Linked DNA regions of Homo sapiens: regions 1, 3, 4 and 5 are each linked to region 2. Evidence: promoter capture Hi-C in 16 types of primary human blood cells and fetal thymus (Javierre and others, 2016). All regions are on one chromosome and are shown on one strand. Each heading gives the region's core, a stretch centred on a gene start or on the middle of the fragment in contact. The rest is flanking DNA. Distances are from core to core; before and after follow the strand shown.

What was found. Contacts are between HindIII fragments. The CHiCAGO score rates a contact against its expected background, and 5 or more counts as called.
Region 1: a contact is called between a fragment that was not itself captured here and the fragment with the promoter of TAS2R40 in region 2, in 2 of 17 cell types (total B cells and naive B cells). The highest score is 10.9, in total B cells.
Region 3: a fragment that was not itself captured here is called in contact with the fragment with the promoter of TAS2R40 in region 2 in 4 of 17 cell types (naive CD8 T cells, naive CD4 T cells, fetal thymus and 1 more); the score reaches 7.6 in naive CD8 T cells.
Region 4: a contact is called between a fragment that was not itself captured here and the fragment with the promoter of TAS2R40 in region 2, in 1 of 17 cell types (naive CD4 T cells). The highest score is 5.8, in naive CD4 T cells.
Region 5: a fragment that was not itself captured here is called in contact with the fragment with the promoter of TAS2R40 in region 2 in 1 of 17 cell types (total B cells); the score reaches 6.3 in total B cells.

The regions. Positions count from the first base shown.
Region 1 is chr7:142,630,146-142,632,990 of GRCh38, reverse strand. It overlaps TRB. Among named protein-coding and RNA genes, the nearest start is that of PRSS1, 120 kb to the left of the region's middle. RefSeq lists an enhancer at 144-438. The HindIII fragment of the contact is 408 bases long and covers 1,288-1,695 here.
Region 2 is chr7:143,220,700-143,223,670 of GRCh38, reverse strand. It overlaps TAS2R40 (taste 2 receptor member 40), which reads right to left and starts at 1,634. Exons shown (of 1, transcript NM_176882.2): 1 at 592-1,634. The coding sequence starts at 1,592. The coding sequence ends at 621. The HindIII fragment of the contact is 3,585 bases long and covers 1,131-2,971 here.
Region 3 is chr7:142,292,741-142,295,716 of GRCh38, reverse strand. No RefSeq gene overlaps it. Among named protein-coding and RNA genes, the nearest start is that of PRSS58, 36 kb to the right of the region's middle. The HindIII fragment of the contact is 5,747 bases long and covers 1-2,976 here.
Region 4 is chr7:142,400,045-142,402,828 of GRCh38, reverse strand. It overlaps TRB and TRBV10-1. Among named protein-coding and RNA genes, the nearest start is that of MIR11400, 73 kb to the left of the region's middle. The HindIII fragment of the contact is 5,689 bases long and covers 1-2,784 here.
Region 5 is chr7:142,646,811-142,649,735 of GRCh38, reverse strand. It overlaps TRB. Among named protein-coding and RNA genes, the nearest start is that of PRSS1, 100 kb to the left of the region's middle. The HindIII fragment of the contact is 4,372 bases long and covers 1-2,925 here.

The DNA of each region.
Region 1 (2,845 bases), core at 242-2,741, 590 kb after region 2:
TTGCAAATTCAGCACAATGTTGAATAGAAATCACGGTATTATTCATTTATATATTTATCAACTGTGTAGAAATCACACAACTACAGGTGCCAGATATGGGTAAACGCTAAGGGTTATTACAAAATGTTAAGATTAGATCCTGCCATTTTAAAGACCAATTGGCCTCCCAGGATATCTGCAATTTTTTTGGTCAGTCAGTACCTAAACATCTCATCTGAAATATCCGGTGAAGCTGTGAGTCCCCACTTGATGAGCGGCAGATATTTTATAGAAAGATCCACATCACCCTCTAGTGGTCAAAGGAGCGAATTCATCCAATGCCCGCGGAGCTCTGCCTCGGCCTGCCTGAGTCGGGAGTGGCCCGCCCGGCAGCGAGGCAGCAAAAAGGCATTCCAGGTATCAGAGCGAAATTAAGAAAAAAGCAGCACTTGATGTGCTACCTGCCACATACTCCACAGCATTGTTACTAGCAATTACTTACACAATTATTCAGCCATTAGTCTAATGCCGATGGTGGTTTATCAGTGCATTTTGCCTCCCTCAACCTTTTATAGTCCCCCAAGGCAGGTGTGCTCCCTAAACCGCTATCCTATGCTCTCTGATCTTTTCATTGTAAACTGTATATCAAGGGATTGGAGGCACTTTCATTCTTCCAGTGATGCTAAATGTCCCAAAGGTGTGCTTCTTATCCAGATCCATTTTCTGAGTCCATGACTTGTACATCCAACTGCTCTCTGCATATTCCTGGTTAGATTACTGTCCCTAAGGCACTCCCAATCTCAAAGTAAATCTTGATCTTCTTCCCACTTGGTCCTTCTTATTTGTCTGTGTGTAGCAGTCTCTCTTAATCACCACCCACCACCCCCTGCATATTGCTGCTCATGTCTAATCAATTGCCAAGTCCTTTGATTTACTTCCTTTTAAATGTCTCATTTTCCCCATATTTCTAACACCATCATCATTATCTGAGCTAAACTACTGCTTGCCTGAGCTAAGTTTTTCCTCCGCATCAACTCTGTTCACACTGCTGGAGGGTGGCAGCATAAGCCTCCCAACCCTCTGCCCAAAATATGCCACTTTGGCATAAGGAATATTTTGAGCTAGAGGCATTAAAGACAATAGCAAGTATAAGAGGAGTACTCTGACCCTTCCCCTTTTCTTCTTGAAAAATGGAATAAGCTTCCCATATAAAAGATGTCTTATCTATACCAGGAAAAAAGAATATTCTTAACATCCAAGATAGAATGGGATGATGTTGAGGCCAAGGAATCTGTAACAAAAAAAGCTTGTTAAACTAATCCTCACCTTCCTAGTCACTTTGCCATTCAACCAGCAACCCTAGCCTAAGCCCCTTTACTTTTTCACCTTTCCACAATGTATGACCCTTTGCCCAATTCAATATATGAATGTTCAACTCTAACTGCACATTCAGTTCTTCCTTTAATTATGGGGGCTTTCATGTGATGTAAAACTTGTATTAAATACATGTGTATGCTTTCCTTCCTGTTAATCTTCCATTCTCAGGACCAGCCGAAAAACTGCAAGAGGGTAGAGGTAACATTTTGCCTTCCCTGCATGGTCCATTATTTCTTCACTTTGTGACCAGGGTGATTAAATACACAGATACACACACAGCCACGAATCTGATTACTAAAGAAGTCAAATGTTGAAAACCTCAGTGTCTCCTATTAAGCTTTATGTTGGATTCTGTATCATTTACCTTGACCAGTAAGGTTCTGAGTGGTCTGGTGCCTTCCTGCCTTCTTCAATTTTGCCCTGTACTCAACCACCTCCTCCCCCTGCTCCTGTCACTCTGCTGACTTCTTTCCTGTCATTAAACACACTAATTTCTTTCCTGATTAAAACATTTTGCACTGGTTCTTTAATCTTTCTTAAATGCCCTTGAATTCATTATCCCTCGTCCCACTTAATTAACTCTAGCTCATCTTGATGTAAGGTATTTAGGAATAATATTTAAAATTTCTTCCTATACCTTTTATTAAAAGGAGGATAACAATTAAATATGCAATATCAGGGGCTTCAGACTCTCCAGGGAGTATTTCATCAATAATTACTTTCAAGAAATTAGACATAGTTCATTTTTTAGGATAAAAGAGTCTTAACTGGTTTTCAAAAATGGCACCAGATAGGAGATTACAGATAAAAGACACTCACATATTTATGGGTAGTTAAAATTGACTACTGGTCAGTTAATAGGAGTCACACTGCTTTCCACATTCCAGAATGGAAAAACAGCAGCAGAGGTATGAAGTTGAGAAGTAGCTTATCAAATATTCATCTTTGGACACCTGAGATGGTGCATGTACTATAGCAAATGGGTTGAGACTCTGGGAAACCAGTTCGAGAGATTATTTTTGACATTAAGAATGGGGATATCCAAGGATATAGAGGAATTAGACGACCCTAGCTCCCTTGAAACCTCTGAAATTCTTCCCATGGCTTCTCCATTACTGGGAAAAACAGTGCCTCCGTGTGTGTGTGTGTGTGTGTGTGTATGTGTGTGTGTGTGTGTGTGTTGGGGAGGAGGATGTAAGAGTCTGTCTCTTACCTCACCCATCACTGCCTCTGAAAGGTGAACTTGATTTTAAATACAACAAAGCACAGAGAGTAGAATATAAAATCAGAACAAAAAGTTCAACACTTCAAAAAGAATTGCTAATCAAAAATTTATGTCATTCAAAATTTACAGGAAATGTGATAGGATTTTATTTTGTTGGTACTTGTCCAAGGAAGACAGAACACAAATATGGACTGAATGCTGTTCAATGCTGTTGTCTCGTTTCCTAAGGTAATATAGGTAGGCAGTAGGCTGTGTCCTTGACAG
Region 2 (2,971 bases), core at 385-2,884:
CACTCCACTAATGGCACACATGGCATCCTTTTAGTCAAATCCAGAGCCTTTTTCTTCACCCTTTACTTTCCTCGGAACTCTGCAGCACTTGATAATTTCCAGCAGCCTTTCTTTCCTGAATCTTCTTTTTCTGTAGCCACTCTGGTTTCCCTTCTACCCCGTGGACTGAGTGCTGTGCTCTGCTTCACCAGCCCTAACTGTGTGTTAGTTGGGTGTCTTAAGTAGGATGATCATGTAATTCTTCATCCAGACCATGATATTCTTGAGAATTAAAGGATGCTCAATTGACAACAGACAATAAACAGAGATTGTCCCTGGCAAACCGATATGTCTGGCCACCCTCTCCTTAAGGCTCAGGAGGAGAAGAAAGTGGAGAGATCTCAGGGCAGGATATGAATGAACATAGTTCAAGGAGCTTTCAAAGTCCATCTTCAGGTTTCTTAGTTACTTCTGTTTAGAATCTCAAGTTAAAAATTCAGCTTCATATTTATAAAAGGATCACGTTATCTGAGAAGTGTCAGAGCAGGTTTGGGAGAGAAGAGACGGGTGAGGAGAGAGTTCTACCTGAGGCAAAGGCAGAAGTGGTTGGACCAGGTCCCGCAGAACTCCGTGAGTTCCAGTCACAGAGTCTGCCCTTTTAGGTAAAGAGGAACTTGGTGCTGAAACCGCTTCCAGGCTCTTCTCAGCCCAGGGTTGCCCAAGATCAGTTGTACTGAGTGGCCGGCAGGGTAGGCAGCCATGATGATCTTGCACAAAATATTCCAGGAACTGTAAGTGTCAAAGATGTTGGACGTGGAAAGAAATAGAGCAATTGCATTGAAAATGTAGAGGATGAGAAAGTAGCTGGTGGCTTTGATGGCCCCTATGTGAGCCTTCATGCTGGGGTCCCTGGACCCTGTGGCATTGCTTCCCATGTGTAGGGTGTGTCTCTTGAGAGAGAGGATCAGCAGGGTGGCTGCCAGGATGAACATGATCAGAGGAACGAAGATCCCCATGTTATAGAAAAATACCAGGTTGACCATATTGGTCTCAGAGAAGTACTTCTTCTCCGTGGAGTTGGAGGAGGGGATAGGAATGGAGCTATTCACATACACATTGAAGACATCTCTCGAGAGAGGAAAGCTGAAGCTTAAGGAAACCAACACTGACAGCCTGAGAAGCCAAGGCATCAGCACTATGATTTTCCTCTTCATCAGGAAGAACAAAGGATGATTGAAGTTTGCAATTCTAAGACAATAGAAGACTTTGAGCCAGGCAGCAAACCAGAGATTGGAATGGTTCAGAAAGACAGTGATGACTTTGAAGAGGATATACACTGAGTTTTGGTTATAAACAATTCGGAATAGCAGACTGAAAATGTTCTCCAGCATCATCCAAATCTGTAGCAAGAGCCTGGAAAAGCTCAGCATCAACATAATGCGGTCACCAGTGGGGAGTGTTTTGCCCCTGGCCCACTCAGCCCCATAGATGGCCGTGATGAAGCCACTCCCAAGGATGCCAGTGATGCACTCTATTCCGGAGACCACCAAAGTGAAGGTGACCTTGAACTTGGATATGTCTTTATCTGTGGCATCTGTGTTCACCGTTGCCATTCTCTTTGATCCTGACTTTCAGGTTTCTGCGCCAAGAATGGGTAACTGCTCTGCAATCTTCTGACCCTTGCTCAATGTTATAATTTCTGCCGCCCTCATTAATGGTTATTTCCAATTTTTCTCCATTTGTTTATCACATGACTACAAGTTAGAGGCTTCACATGCAAATAATGAGAGGATCTGGTTACTGGGTCTGTCTCAATTTTTCATAAAGATACATTTGTCTTGGGCTTTCAGAAGCTCACTGGAAATAATTTGAGACATGTTTCTAGCTCAACACCTTCTTACCTTATTTACTTTAAGTCCACATTTACCTGATAAGCAATGAATACAAGGCCTTTTTACTTGTCTCACAAGATCTCTGTTACCTGCTAAATTATTTGTAAAAGCTCATACAGCTTTTAAAATCTGTTTTCCCCACTTCTTTTCTTGTCTCTCTTATTTTGGGAGAGAGTTTTATTTTGATAGTTACCATGTTTGTGAATAAGAAATTCCCATAAGCTCATATATGAACATCTTTTACTTAGAATTGAGTTTCTTCCAAAAAGGCCTGCTATTATAATGTCCTCGAATAGTATATAGAAAAGCCAAAATTGGATGCTATTCGAGTTGGAGAGAAGGAAGTCTCCATAGTCCCAGTTTTTATTGTTTGTGTATGTGTCATCAATTTCAGCTTACTGAGATCCCACATGACTATTTGAGCTCAGAATCAGGTAGAATGAGCCTGGGGAGAATTCAGTGTTCTGGACATGGTGTTGAAGTTTGGAAATGTGATAAGGTACTATGACTTGAAATTTAATTTCCTACTTTTTAACCCTGGCTGTGAACCAGAATGAACTCTGGCACTTTACAAGAATATGTAGATGCCCAGGACTCGTCCAAATCTAGGAAATCAGAACTGGACTAGGGCTCAGGCATGCTATCTTTTAAAAAAGCCGAAAGGTCTTGTTGCTCATAGTCAGGATTGAGATCCAAAATCTTAGCTGGAAACCAATGAGCCTTGGGTCAGATTTGGCCTGTAGTCATTTTACCTTGCATTGGTTAATGCTGTACAGCATTAATCCACCAGTGTGTAACTTTTCTTTTTGAGGGGTTCTATTGGCAAACATTTAAACTTAGGAGATTACTTATATGCATGCACAAAAAATCTATCTTCTCTTGAAAAATTAGAAGATTTGGCAGTATTGGGTCTTCATAGTGAACTGGCTGAAGCTGAGTAATGGCTGCCCATTTTAAACAAGGTATATACTTTTCAGTTTGTTGACAATACTAATTCCTAGTGTCTTCTTGACACAGAAGCTGAGTGCCAGTTATCATTTTCCAGTGTGCTTACCCTGTTATTTTTATTTGATTATTTTTCTTTTTGAGACTGGGTCTCA
Region 3 (2,976 bases), core at 137-2,636, 930 kb after region 2:
TGACCATCAAATAATCGGGCCCAAACTATTCTCATCAGCATTCATAGACTATATAGAAAACCAATTATCAGTTGGGGATTGATGCAATTGGAGAAGGTTTTTTGAAGGAGAGTACTCTAAGCCAGATCTTAGGGCAATCTATCTAATCCTGTTCCAAGTATTTTTTTTCTAAGAAACTATTTCTGCTGAATTGTCTACAAAGAAGCCAGCATTAGCTTTGACTACTACTACCTGGCATGCTATTTCCCAGTAACAGGGAGACACTTTTTTGATTTCCTTTCACAATTTGTAACTGCTACCTAAAGAGAAAAATGTATATTTGCTGGGCTGGAGTTTTCACTTATCTGACTCATCTTTAACTATTTTAGAACCTACAATCTTCTTTTCGCTTTGTTGTCTACTTATCTTCTTACTATCTCTCTCCTGATCCTATGTCCCCAAGCTATAGGACAGAGAGAAAAAGAGTCAAAGCTCTAACAAGACGATTTTCCAGCTCGACAGAAGGAAGAAGTTTCCAGAAGGTCCTGTGGTTTCCTGTCCAGAATAGAGGCTGGATGACTGTTGGTGAAGATGTTTTGGACAAGGCTTAAGTGCCCAATGGGGCAAAGAAGAACAGAAGAACTTAAGCATCTACTCTATGCCAGAGACAGTGTCATAAACTGGAAATTTTAACATACAATATTTTCTTCAGAAGCTCGTATTCTAGTTGAAGAGAAAAGGAAATCAAAGCCTGCAACAAAATTCAAAAGTTATAATAGCAACATGCACAGGGTTTCAAAATGGCACCGATAAGAAATAGAACGGATTAGCATCTAACCAATTGGGGCATTATGGCAGTAGAGTTAGGGGAGGTCATAGGTTAATGTCAGAGATTAATTATAGATAGAGATGATACTTCAGGTAAATTTAATGGATGACTAGAAGTTCACCAGCAAAGAGGGAAAGTAACCTCATTCATTCATTCAGCAGTTATTCACTGAGCAATTACTATGTGCCACGTACATACCGGCTTTGAGGTGTAATAGTGAGCAAATCAGACATCATTTATGCCCTCAGGAATTTTAAACAACCTGGAAAAAATAGACATTAAGCAGATATTTATACAAGTAATATGTGACTGGAAGTAAATGTAATGAAAGTAAAGCTGCCTAGAAAGTTCAGGAAGGCCTGACTTTAGTTGGAGAATGCAGGTGGAGTTCAGAGTTCTCCACGATTAGAGTTGAAGAATGATGGGAGTTAACCAGGTAAGGTGTGTGGGAAGGCACAGAGGTTTAAAACAGCATACAGTGTCCAAGAACATGAACTTTGGTGCTGGAATTTAAACTTATCCTGATGTCAATGTGGAGCCACCAAAGCATTTTAAGCGGAAAATGTAATGATCCATGTGCATTTTAGAAAGATTACTCTGATGTGGAGAGTGAGTTGAAGGAGAATAAAGCCACAAACAAGGAAGTGGTTTTAGCACGATTTCAATAATTCAGGAGAGAAAATGTGATACTGAACCAAGTCATAGGTGGTTGACTTGAAAGGAAAATCAAGGATCTTCAAAGAAAAGTCAAGGATCTTTAAGACAGGTAAAATCGTCAAGACTTTGAATACAGGTAGTAAGCAAGGTGGATAAAGAAGTTAAGGGTGGGCCAGGTGTGGTAGCTTAGGCCTATAATCCCAGCACTTTGGAAGCCCAAGGCAGGTGGATCACCTGAGGTCAGGAGTTCGAGACCAGCCTGGCCAACATGGCAAAATCCCATCTCTACTAAAAATACAAAAATAACCCGGCATGGTGGCACACGCCTGTAATCCCAGTTACTTGGGAGGCTAAGGCAGGAGAATCGCTTGAACCCAGGAGGAGGAGGTTGCAGTGGGCCGAGATCGCATCATTTGCACTCCAGCCTGGGTGATAAGAGTGAAACTCAGTCAAAAAAAAAAAAAAGTTAAGGGTGACTTCTGTGTTTCAAGTTTGGCTAACCATATGTGTGTAGCTTCATTGCACTGACAGAAAATATAGAAAGAGAAAGCTATGATGAATTCAGCGCTAGACTAGCTGACCCTAGGTATGGGAGCAGACATGTTCAGTAGAAGTTGGATCTGAGAAGAGCTCAGGTGAGAGTCAGTATTTGAGGGACTGATTATGAATGATAAGAAATTAGATTATAAAAAGGCCAAGAGAGGTAATGTGCACAGTGAGAGAAGAATTTATCCATTGGTTGTATTGAAAGTATTTCATTCTTCGAGTAACGCAGCTCTGTTTAACAGTGCTTTGTGTCATCACAGTAAAACTCTATTAAATCAAGAAAGTCAAGAGTAGTCCTTAACCAGATGAGGTCTGTAAATCCCATACTTCCCTCTGAAGGCATGTTTATGAATAACTTCAGCAACAATATTTGCCATACTTGAAAAATGAAGAATCCTCCTGATGAATGTCTGGATGTCTCCTATCATACTCTTGCTGTTTCCCAGAGGTCTTGGAATATCGATAAAGTTGGTTGGTGTGATCTCGGCTCACTGCAACCTCCACTCCCCAGGTTCAAGCGATTCTGCTGCCTCAGCCTTCTGATTAGCTGGGACTACAGGTGCCCGCCACCATGCCTGGCTATTTTTTTTTGTATTTTAGTAGAGACGGGGTTTCACCATGTTGGCCAGGATGGTCTTGATCTCCTGACCTCGTGATCTGCCCACCTCGGCCTCCCAAAGTGCTGGGATTATAGGCTTGAGCCACTGCGCCCAGCCCTGTTCTCTCTTATTATATTCACGGCATCACTGTTGAGGGCATGAACCCTGAAGTGAGGCTGCTTAAGTTTTAACCATAGATTGGCCACTTAACAGCTATGAAACTTTGATATACTCACTTGACTTCTTTTAGCCTCTTTCTCCACATCTCTTAAATGGTGAAATTTGTAGTTTAACACTTACGATGCTGCTTGTGAAGACTGAATGAGTTGATGCACGTAATCCACTTCCACAGTGCTGGACACATAG
Region 4 (2,784 bases), core at 210-2,709, 820 kb after region 2:
ACTTAATGTCATTGAATTGTACATTTAAAAAATAAAGTGATGAAATTATATGTTACGTGCATTTTATCATACTTTTTAAAAGATGGAAAGACTACCTTCAAAATAGGAAAAACACTGACAGTTGCATTCTCCATTATTGAACTTAAAGACAATGAAAGGAACCCAAGTGATTTAAATACATTGATAAATTTTCCAGAAATGTGGTTTGTCACAATATATCCCACAGTGGGTTTTCTGATGTAGTTGTAATTATCTTTTGTAATAAATATACAAACAATTTTCACCAGCCCATATGTCTACTCAAATGTAGGACTGTCATTCCTTGGAAAAGTATCCAATCTAGTAATTTTGAAATCATAACTTACTGTTTCAGGTTGCAATATTCTGATTGTAAGTAAGGTTGCGAAGTTATTCTCATGTTTAGTGGTAACTTATGTTCACTCTTGTGTGAATTGCCTACTCAGCCTCAGTATTGCTATTTTTATTGAGCTGTCTTCTTAATACTAAGTAATAAGAATATTTTACTCATTCTAGATACTAATTCTCTTAGACAAGAACAGCTGTGCTACAGAAAACAAAACAAACAAAACAAATCCTAAAATCTCACTGGCATAGCTCTATGAAGTCTTACTTCCCATGACCACAAAGCCCAGTGTGGCATGAGCAGCTTTCTTCTGTGATTGTCCACCAAATTCTGACTCAGTGAGCCAGGCTGCTTCCATATTATCATTAGGCAATCTGTACCGTGTAGCTCCCGAGTTCAGGACATGGCAAAAGAGAGTTGAAGAGTGTCTGTGCACAAGAGTTGACAGGAGGCTGGAGACTGCGGTGCTTAGAAAGTCCTGCTTGCAAGATTGGACTCTGGCAGACATCTGGGAGCTTGGCTGGTGAACGGTGCCCTGAACTGATGCAAAGTTTCTCCTGACTGACAGGGGTGGCTCATCGTTCCTAGGCTGGTGTTGCAAATAATATTATGCTGAACATCAGATTTTCTTTTGGGATCTAGACTTTTGGTTCATGCTAAAAAGTAGGTGCCTGTGTGACCAGCTTCTACTAAAACCTCTTGGGTGCTAAGTCTGTAATGGGCTCCCTTGGCAGATACACTGCACGTGTGTTAATGCATTTTTGCTGCTGGGAGGAGAGAGAGCTCTGTGTGACCCCTCCTGAGAGGAAGAGAGCATAAGGAAGCCTGCCTGTGAATTCCTCCAGATTCTGCCTGTGTGTTTTCTCCACATGTTCTGCTGCAGAGTATTTACTATGACACTTTAATAAATCTTAGCCATGAGTACAACTCTATGCCATATACCAACACTCTAAACATGGGAGTACATTTAGAGACCCTCAACATGGTGCCACAGAATATTTTTAAGGGCCAGGCTTGAAATGAGCTGACATCATTTTATCCCACTATTCAGAACCTGGTGACATGTTCCCACCCCTCCAACTGCAAGGGAGACCAGAAACCATGGAGGAGCTACAGGTATTCAGTGATGTTCTGAATGTTCTCTGTTACACTGAATGTTCTCTGTCACACTGATTTTTCATCATTTGTATGCATTCCTCATGCCTTTCCCAGGCTGTAGCTTAACTTTATTTTTTATGGTGTGTTTTGGCTTGAAACAATTTAATGCAACTAGCGTTATGAATGTTGTTCTTTTGGCTTGTGGCTTTTTGTCTCCTCTAAAAATGTCATCCCTCAACTGAATGCATAAAATGCTTTTCTTAAATTTTTCTAGTAAACTTTCTTTTTTGCTTTTTACAATTAAGAGCAAGTGTGCCTGAAATACACTTTAATTTAAGAAATGAAGTAGAGATGTAGGACTAAGTGGGTGGTATGTATGCTCAGTGCAGAAGAAAGAATTTATATAAACAATCCCCAGGGTGGAAAACAACAGACACATATGAAGAAATAACTGCATGTAAGGGAGTGTGGCTGGAGCAGAGAGCCAGGGAAAACATGGTGCAAAATGATGATGAAGAGGTACGTAAATGGCTAATGATATAGGACCTCGTGGGTCTATTGCCCTTAGAATAAAGGGCCCCCAGGAGCAGAGACCACATGGGCAAAGATTTATGATTGGGAGTTGAAAGGCAGTAGAGGGTAGGGGAAAGGGTATGTGGAAAAGTCACCCAGCCCTTAGGGTAGAGAAGAATATGGTGGGTTTCAAATTTTCAACGAAATTAGGAATCTCGACTAAAGATGCCTTTTCCATTTTACAAAAGGAAAGAGGGAACTGCAGAAGCTAAGGGTGTTGGGGTGACCTCCAGTTGGTCTGAGACTGGGGTAGGAATGGACCTCAACATCAAGGTTTATATGGCCCCTGCTCTATGGCCCCCAGGCTAGCCAGGGCTCTCCGACTCCTGTGAAGGCTGGGACTTGGGAGCACAGGCAACCTCAGTCATTCTAACTGCCCTTTATGTGCAGAGAGGAGGCAGCTGTGCAGCACTGTGGACTCACTGCTGGCGCAGAAATATACAGATGTCTGGGAGGAGGCAGCAGACTCCAGAGTGAGGGGGAGGTCCTCTGTGTTTGATCTAGAGACACTGTAGCCATCTGAGACTTCTCCTTTGTTAGTGTCGTGAACACCATATGAGTAATGGATCAGCCTCAGCCCATGTCCCAGGTCTTGTCGATACCAGAACATATTGTTGTGGTTCCAAGTCTGGTGACACGCCAAGGTCACCTGCCTTCCTGTCTCTGTGATCTTGTGTCTTGGGCTCTGGGTGATTTCAGCATCCCTGTGTCCTGTAATAGAGAACAACAGATGCTGATGCTGTCATCCC
Region 5 (2,925 bases), core at 233-2,732, 570 kb after region 2:
CCTAGTTCTTCCCATGTCTAATATTTTTTTTCATGTCAAGATCAAAATTGTAGATGCTGCATTGTTGACACTCTAGAGATACATATCTCTCTACAGACTTATATATCTACAGATTATATATATGTATATGTTTATATTTGCCTTTATTTAGAGAGTGCTGAGATATTTTTCTTCAAAAGGCAGTGAACTTATTGGAAGATCAGCGACATCCTTTTGAGACTTGCTGAACTTTGTTAGGGCAGTTCTGGAGTGGTTTACTCTAGGACGTTGGTAGTCCTTCTCTTGAGATGTGACCCTTATGTGGTGCCAGCTGCATTCCCAGGGGTTTCAGCAAGGCCTCTCAGCTCTGCCCAGTCAGGATTCATGTCTCCCATGCTCGTATGACTGTCAGAATCTCTATTCCTCTCACAACTACCCAGCAACTGTTCTCTGCCAGGTCTTATGGAGGCGTTTCCCATGCATTTGCTGCTTAGTTTTTGACCAAAGACTTAAGGGGACCTCATAAAATATTTGGAGGTCTTATTCTGCATAGCTTCCTTCTCTGCAGTAGCTTATCCCTATCACTATCAGCCATGTCCATACTTCTGAACTCAATCTCTGCCTCCCTATGCTGGGTAGACCACTGCCCACTGCTTGGGCTTCATATACTTGTGGTGCAGCCCAGAAGTCATACCAAGGCAGAGTCTTAGGACAATAGCGAAATTCCCCTTCTAGGTTTCCTCTTTCCCAGAGATGGCGACGTGTACTGCCTGTTGTCTGATGTCTGAACATAGTTGTCTTACAATTTTTGTCAAGTTTTATAGTGGCTTAAGGCAATAGAACAAGTACAGTAACAACTATCTATTTTGATTTAGAGCCAAATTCCCAAAAATAAGCATTTTAAAGGTTTTTGTTCCAGATTGTCAAACTGACACTATTACAAGTAGTTTAAAAGAGTAACACTTTGACTAGACTCTTAATCAAATTGGACAACAAAATTCATTTGTAAGTGTTCTCAAACACATTTTTACTAATATTTCATTCCATATTCATATGAATTTTCTGTATTCATATTCTCATTCACTATTAAATTATTTGATTTTTTTCAATTGTTAACTTTATGGTAAACCCTGATGGTTTTCAGGAAATCATTTAAAATTTGTTTTCCTAAATTTATTTTTTTCCCAAACTTCCTCAGGAATTTGTTTTAATTTATCCACTGATAAATCACTCCCAAAGACAATATAATGTTCTAATGTTTTTCATGAAAGTAATCTATATTTTGTCATCCTTATACACATTATTTGAAATACATTTTGATGGTTCTTTTTACTCTTCTCCCTTTCCCCAGAGACCAAAATTCCATGTAGTGTAGCTGAAAGTTTCTGAATGCCTTTATGTCTCAGTGAATGGGAGTTGCTCTGTAAGCATTTGTGAAATCAAAATGGATCAGCTGTCATATCAAGAGCTCAAGGAGATAGGTGTTTGCAGTGGATGGAATTTGGCCCTAAAAGAGATAATGTGTGGGCAAGTATTAAGTCTTCCAAAAAGATGTGTGAAGTTTTTCTGTCCTTTGCTATAACCAGGCAGCATAATTCACTTAGAAAAGAGCAATAAGAATTAATTTGAATCAAATTTGCCCCATATTGTAAAAAAGCACAGCTAAATGGAGTGAAGCATTTTTTCAGCAGTTCTGGATGGAAAGGGTTGTCAGTGGGTGATAGTAGTTTGGGGACAGCCATGGCTGGTAACTTTTCTATGCTGCTTAAAGACATGAGTAATAATGGAAGAGACAGCAAGTTGAGCACTCAGCAGAGTGGAAGTGAAAGATAGAAGTCTCATTCACATAATGGAGATAACACGCATGCACCTGCTAAGGTAAGAGATCACCTGGTTCCTCCCACATCTACTGATTCTTTGAAGTCTGGGACAGAGGTGGTGCCATATTGGGTGGTGGTATTTCCAGTGCCTAAAGTTTCAGAAAGGAGACTAATATCTTGTATATCTCAGGACCCCCTACAAATCATTGAGGAAAATATAGAACTGTCAATAGAGAATTTGCCAGCGGATATGGATAGGCCATTTTGAGAACAGAAATCCAGGACCACTATCACATGAAGAAGTGCTCAAACTCATTAGTAATTAGAAAATTGCAAAGGAAAGAAAAGGAGGGAGAGAACATTATTCAGCCTTCTAGATTGCTGCCAGTTATTATTATAGTAGTATAACGTAATCTCTCAGTTCCTTTAAATTATTGGTTTTATTTAGTTTTAAAAAATTGTCACCTGTATCTTTATGGTAAACACTGATGATATTCTGGCAGTAGGTGAGAGGGTTGCAGGGGTGGGGGGTGGAGAGAAAGAGAGACAGAGATTGGAATCTCTTTACATTGCTAGACTGAGAACAATCTAGATCACTGGATAAGGATTAAAGGAGATATTAGGATGTAGGAAAACACCCTATTCACTTTTATGTGGGATTGCAGATGTATACAGTGATCCTGAAGAACCCGTGGTGGTATTTAGATAGATAAAATATGCATAGAATTCCATGTCTCAGCAATCATGACTTGCTCTGGGTATATAATCCTATAAAGCAATCATACAAGTCTATGAAGGTATTTGTACAAGAATTTTCAATTCTGGCAGAAAACTGGAGAAAATCTGGCTATGTATTTCTGAAGAAATGGGTATGAGTACTCTCTATCATGTAGAAGCAACAAGACCAAATGTACTTACAGAAAAACGGAGCACTTCCCTTTCTTGAGCTGAGTGGAAAAGTAATATTTATGTGATTTTAAATATATACATACATGCCTACTGCTGAGTGCTCTGTGAGAAGGTTAATGGCTGGATCATGACTGATCTGTTTTTTTCTCTTGGGATTTTGAATTGAGGCTTAGAAAGAGCCAGCCTGGTATTTATCAGTGTAGGGAAATGATGGCAA